2 separate regions of the Homo sapiens genome follow, and region 2 is linked to region 1. Evidence: promoter capture Hi-C in human tissues and cell types (Jung and others, 2019). All regions are on one chromosome and are shown on one strand. Each heading gives the region's core, a stretch centred on a gene start or on the middle of the fragment in contact. The rest is flanking DNA. Distances are from core to core; before and after follow the strand shown. Region 1 holds the start of SLC46A2 (solute carrier family 46 member 2). Region 2 has its middle 18 kb from the start of SLC31A2.

Region 1 (2,700 bases), core at 201-2,700:
TGCCTCCTAGGTAGCAGGTTCAATCCCTGGTGCTGAGCTAGGACACCCAGACCATGGCATCCCTGGTGTCAGCCCCATGATGCAGAGGGCTAGCAATGTCCTGCCTCCTCAAGAATGACAGACTCACCAATATAGAACATGTATGTCTCTTTCACAAAAGCCAAGAGGAGGGCTCCTGACCCAAAGGAGACCATCCCAATCATGATCATGGTGGTGTCCCGAAAGCAGCGGGAGAAGACCAGGACACCCAGGAAGCTGGTGATGAAGATGGTGTACCCTGCAGCCATACCATAGCCCACCTGCACTTGGTTCCAACCGAGAGGCTCCCTCAGCACAAAAAGAGGGATCACGTCCACTGTGCCCACCACCGCCAGGTCATATATGATAGCACCCACAAAGAGCAAGGCAATGGTGGTTTTATGGGGTTTTGCTTTTCCAGGAGATGGAGGGTGCCCCACTGCATACTGTTGGTCCAACTGATCAGGATCCAGAGTGCGGTATGTGCCAACCGTGCCAGACACGGTATCCACGGCGGGGAGCTCCTGGCTGGGTTTGGCCACCGACTCAGGGACCTTTAGCACCAAAAGGCTGTAGAGCAGGGCAAACGAGGCACAGCTCACGCTGCAGGCCGTCAGTATCAGGCCCTGCCCAGAGTGCCCAGCCATCTGCTTGAAGAGATGCCCGGAAGCCATGCTCCCGCAGAACCCCGCCAAGCCCAGCATCAGGTCAATGAGGATGAGGCGCACAGAGCGGCGGCCCTCGGAGGAGCCCAGCGATCCCAGCGCCATGACCCCGGACCAGAAGGCGGAGAAGCCGCCGAATAGCCCGTTCAGCGCCGCCGCCCCGTACAGCACCTCCACTGGCCAGTCCAGCAGCACCTTGAGCAGCAGCCCGAGGCGGGAGAGCAGGAAGCCCAGCAGCGACATGCAGATGGAGATCTTTCGGTGGTAGCGGTCGCTGAGCCATCCCAGCCCGTAGGCGGACAGCAGGGGGGACAGGCCCACCACAAGGTTGTAGATAATGTAGAAATTGGAGATGGCTCTCTGCTGTTGGTCCTCTAGAGCCCCCCGGGGCGATGGGCTGGCACTGTGGTTGGAGGAGCCTCCGGTTCCGTAGGACGCCTTCACCACGAGGAGTAGCCCCGCATCGTAGAGGGAGGCAGCCACCTGGGACGAGGCCACCACGGGCTCAACCCAGGTCCTCGGGTGGAAGCGAGGCAGGTGGCCCCTCCGCGGGCAGGTGACCTCGGGGCTCATGTGACCTCTCTGATGGGGATCGAAGGGCTTTCTGGCTGCAGTGACAAGGATATGCTCCCAAATTCGGCTGCTACGGCTGCTCAGGTTTCAGTCCCGGAGCGCGAGTGTGCTCCGTGCGCCGGGAGCGCGAGTGTGCTCCGTGCGCCGGGAGCGCGCCGGCCAGTGGCGAGCAGAGCCAGGGCACGCAGCGCCTGTGACAGCAGCCCGCCCAGCAGCCGAGTGACCTCCCGAGTGACTCCTCCTCAGGCCAGAAAAGGCCGCGCTCCACCCTGCCCTCGCCACCTCAGGCAGAGTAGGACTGGCGACAGTCCAGGGAAGCCAGGCGCGGGGGAGCGCACCGCGAGTGCTGGCTCCTGGCGCCAGCACCCCCGGGGCCGACGGGTCACGCTGCTCCTGTGAGCGCGGCCGCCTGACGGGGCCGAATTTCCCCACAGCCAGGCGTGCGTGCCCGGACCTCCCGCGGATCTCTGCGGACCCCCCACCACCGGGGCAGGGGCTGGAAGGAAGCTCCCCAGGACTGGCTCAGGGAGCGTTTCCAAATTCTCCCATCCCAGGAAGGCAGGTTTGCGCGAGGGGTGGGACGCCTAGGATTCTGCCTAGGATAAGTATTGGGGTGTGAAGTTTTATTTATAGATTTAATGCAACAGGGGCCCATGTGCTATAGGCAGCTGGGTAGCACTTTGAGAGAAGTAAAAACTTGGGAGCCGCCAGGTCCAGGCTCTTCTCCAAGCCAAAGGCCTCTTAGAGAAGAGTCCTGTTTGGTACACCTGCATTGGTGGGCCTAGTGCCTGGGCCTTGTCTAGAAGGCTCCTGCCCCAAACCCCAGGGCCAAGGGAGAGACGGCAAGATCCTGCCAGCCCTAGATGTCCCCCTAGATGATAAAACTGGACTCTTGGGCAGGGGCTTGAGCCCACTGGAAGGGGCAGAGTCACCAGGGTCCTCATCTGAATCAAGTGCCCAGGTCCCTTTCTGCTTGTTAGTAGTCACTCTTCTTCTGTCTGTGGGCTCACTCCCCTGGGCTGGGCTGAGACCTCCACTTCCCAGGTGGCCTCGCTTCTTGTTTAGGTACATACTTCTGCAAAGAAAACCAGGGTGATGGATGGTGCAGGGGCCAAAATGTACCACAGAGCATGACCTGTTCCATGGTCAGCCCCAGGGATGGAGACTCAAAGCACACAGCCTTCCTGTCCCTCTACCCACAATCCACTATAGCTCTGGCAGCGTGGATGATCAGGAACCCAAAGACATGAAAGGGAGACGCAGGTATGCAGGGAGAGCTTAAAATGCCACATGGATAATATACTCATGTAGGGAGTAGGGACTGGATTCCAAATGATTTAGTGTATCTATGTGCTCTTTTGGTAGTGTTTAGGTGGGCTATAATCTCCTCCCCTGCCACCCTCAACCTCCAGCATGGCCCAGCCTCCTCGTGTCTAGGCCCAGA
Region 2 (2,812 bases), core at 193-2,692, 240 kb after region 1:
TAATAATAGTAATCTCATACTGTGGGGGTGAAGCTTACGTTGGTTAGCTCTGAAAGTGCATCATCAGCATGAAACTGCCATTTCTGGAAGCAATCACTTTCTGGTTCTTATAAAAGAGCCCATTGTAAGGGGCAAATGAGGAAGATTCACACTGGCTGCCTCAGACAGGGATCTCCACATGGAAACATTAAAGAACAGACAGTTTCTGGTGGAGTGGGTGAGTAGGGGAAAGGATATTCAAATCCAAACTACCTGTGCTTGAAAGACCTCTAGTTAAAAGTGTCTGAAAAGCCAGTGTCCTTGAGCTGTCCTTGGTACTGATCTCGCCAAGGCTTAACTCTTGTTATCTTGGGAAAGCCTGCTTGGCTCTCTGCCGTGTCACTTTGCAGGGTCTGAACTGTTGCCTCCATCCAGCAATAACATGATGGATTTTACCATATTCTCCAGCCGCCTGAGAGGAGTGCTGGGCTCCCATTCTAAACTTCTGCTGTGGAAACTCACATCACTCCCACAAATGCATAGGAAATGTTTAGTTCTTGCTAGAGCAGTGGTTCTCAACCAGGGCCAATTTTGTCCCCCAGGGAACACTTGGCAATGTCTGGAGATATTTTTAGTTGTCACAATTCAGAGGTGGGGGCATTTGCTTGTGGCCCCCAGAAGCTAGAGGCCAGGGATGCTGCTAAACGTTCTGCAACACACAGGACAGTTCCCCACAGCAAAGAATTATCTGGCCAATCTGGACCAAAACATCAGTAGTACAAACACAGAAACCATGCTTTAGAGTTGAGGCAGTTGGTGTGGTAATTAGAACTTTGCTGGACATAAGTCTGGCTTAATGATCTGGATTTACCATTGTAACCTTGGCTAAGTCATAAGTCACTGAACTGTTCCAAGCCTTATTTTCTTTCTTTCTTTCTTTTTTTTTTTTTTTTTTTTTTGAGACAGAGTCTCACTCTGTCACCCAGGTTGGAGTGCAGTGGCACAATCTTGGCTCACTGCAGCCTCCACCTCCTGGGTTCAAGCAATTCTCCTGCCTCAGCATCCTGAGTAGCTGGGACTACTAAGCCTTATTTTCTATGTGTGAATGTTTAGGCTCCTGAACTAGATGGCCTCAATGCCACCTGTCTGTTCTAACTCAACATATCTTCAGTCCATAAATACTTGGTGAGTAGCATGCTCCTAGCAACTAACATTCTGTGAGACTATTAATATAAAATATAATGGAATGTATAAAATAAAGGAACAGAATGGGTAAAAGTTGTAAGAGCTGATATGATAAAAGGTGACTACTCGGTCAGGCATGGTGGCTCATGCCTGCAATCCCAGCACTTTGGGAGGCCGAGGCAGGTGGATCACCTGAGGCTAGGAGTTCGAGACCAGCCTGACCAACATGGAGAAACCCTGTCTCTACTAAAAATACAAAATTAGCGCTATTGCACTCCAGCCTGGGCAACAAGAGTGAAACTTCATCTCAAAAAAAAATAAAAGGTTACTACTTAAATATATACCAAATTTATATATAATATGCATGCTAGACAAAACACAGACTATAGATCTTCAAGTGGCGAGAAGAATGACACCTTTACTAGCAGTTAAAGAAATATAAAATATGCCACTTTTCCTAATCTTCGGAAAGAAGCAACTCAGTGGCATTGGGACTGTGAGGAAACAGATGCACTTAGATATTCTTCTGTCTCTGAACAAACACAATCTGGCACTATGAAACAGTAGCAACAAATGTGGTTCTTCAGCTCAATCAAATTATTCCGTTACAAAAAGTGTACCTGAAATTCATTGTTACATCTATAAAATTCATAGGAACCTAATATTTTAAAGTAAACACATACTAGATTACCCCCAACACACACACACACACACACACACTTTATCCACTAAACAGTGGATAACAGACACACACACACACACACTTTATCCACTAAACAGTGGATAACAGACACACACACACACACTTTATCCACTAAACAGTGGATAACAGACACACATACACACTTTATCCGCTACACAGTGGATAACAGACACACACACACACACTGTATCCACTAAACAGTGGATAACAGGCACACACACACACACTTTATCCATAAAACAGTGGATAAAGTCACTGGATTTAAAGAGTTAATTTTCAGAATTAGGAATAATCCTTTGTATTATGTCTTCCTCTTAAATATCTTAAATACCAGCTTTAGAGTTCATGGGGGCCAGGGAGGCACACAGGTTCCAGAAGGAAAGGAGCCATCCTGGATTGTGGGCCCACCCTTCAGGAGAGGAAGGTGAGAAGCTCCTGGTGCAACTTTCCATGTGGAGATCCCTGTCTGAGGCAGCCAGTGTGGGTCTTCCTCATTTTCCCCTCACAAGAGGCTCTTTTACAAGAAGAACCAGATAGAGGTTGCTTCCAGGAATGGCAGTTTCAGGTTGGTGATGCAGTTTAAATATAGAGACCTCTACCACGCTGGTTCCAAGTGACTTGACAAGGACATGCCAACCTAGCTGTGCCAAGGAGAGAGAACACATCTTAGGATGCCATCTTTTCATGACCCTCCATTGCACCTCCCCTGAGTGTGAGGAAACAGACATCTTTATTCTGCCTACAGGTCAGGGATGAAGAAGTAGCTTCCACCACCACCACCACATGCAGGAAAAGCTCCAACTAAAGGAGTGAATCTAGGAAGTATTCTTCTGCTCCCTAAAGTCTCACTTGAGCCTACAGCATTTTCAGAAGACTCTTCAAAAGAGAATTCAAAGACTGTCAGATGTAAGCAGTGACTGAAACAAAGGCAATGAGATGAGAGGT

The links. Contacts are between HindIII fragments. The study calls those that stand out against the background at their distance.
Region 2: a fragment that was not itself captured here is called in contact with the fragment with the promoter of SLC46A2 in region 1 in 2 of the 25 tissues and cell types used here (H1 embryonic stem cells and IMR-90 fibroblasts).

Annotation. Positions count from the first base shown.
Region 1 is chr9:112,889,426-112,892,125 of GRCh38, forward strand. It overlaps SLC46A2 (solute carrier family 46 member 2), which reads right to left and starts at 1,451. Exons shown (of 4, transcript NM_033051.4): 1 at 128-1,451. The coding sequence starts at 1,256. The HindIII fragment of the contact is 12,966 bases long and covers 1-2,700 here.
Region 2 is chr9:113,131,704-113,134,515 of GRCh38, forward strand. No RefSeq gene overlaps it. Among named protein-coding and RNA genes, the nearest start is that of SLC31A2, 18 kb to the right of the region's middle. RefSeq lists a silencer at 126-420. The HindIII fragment of the contact is 3,800 bases long and covers 1-2,812 here.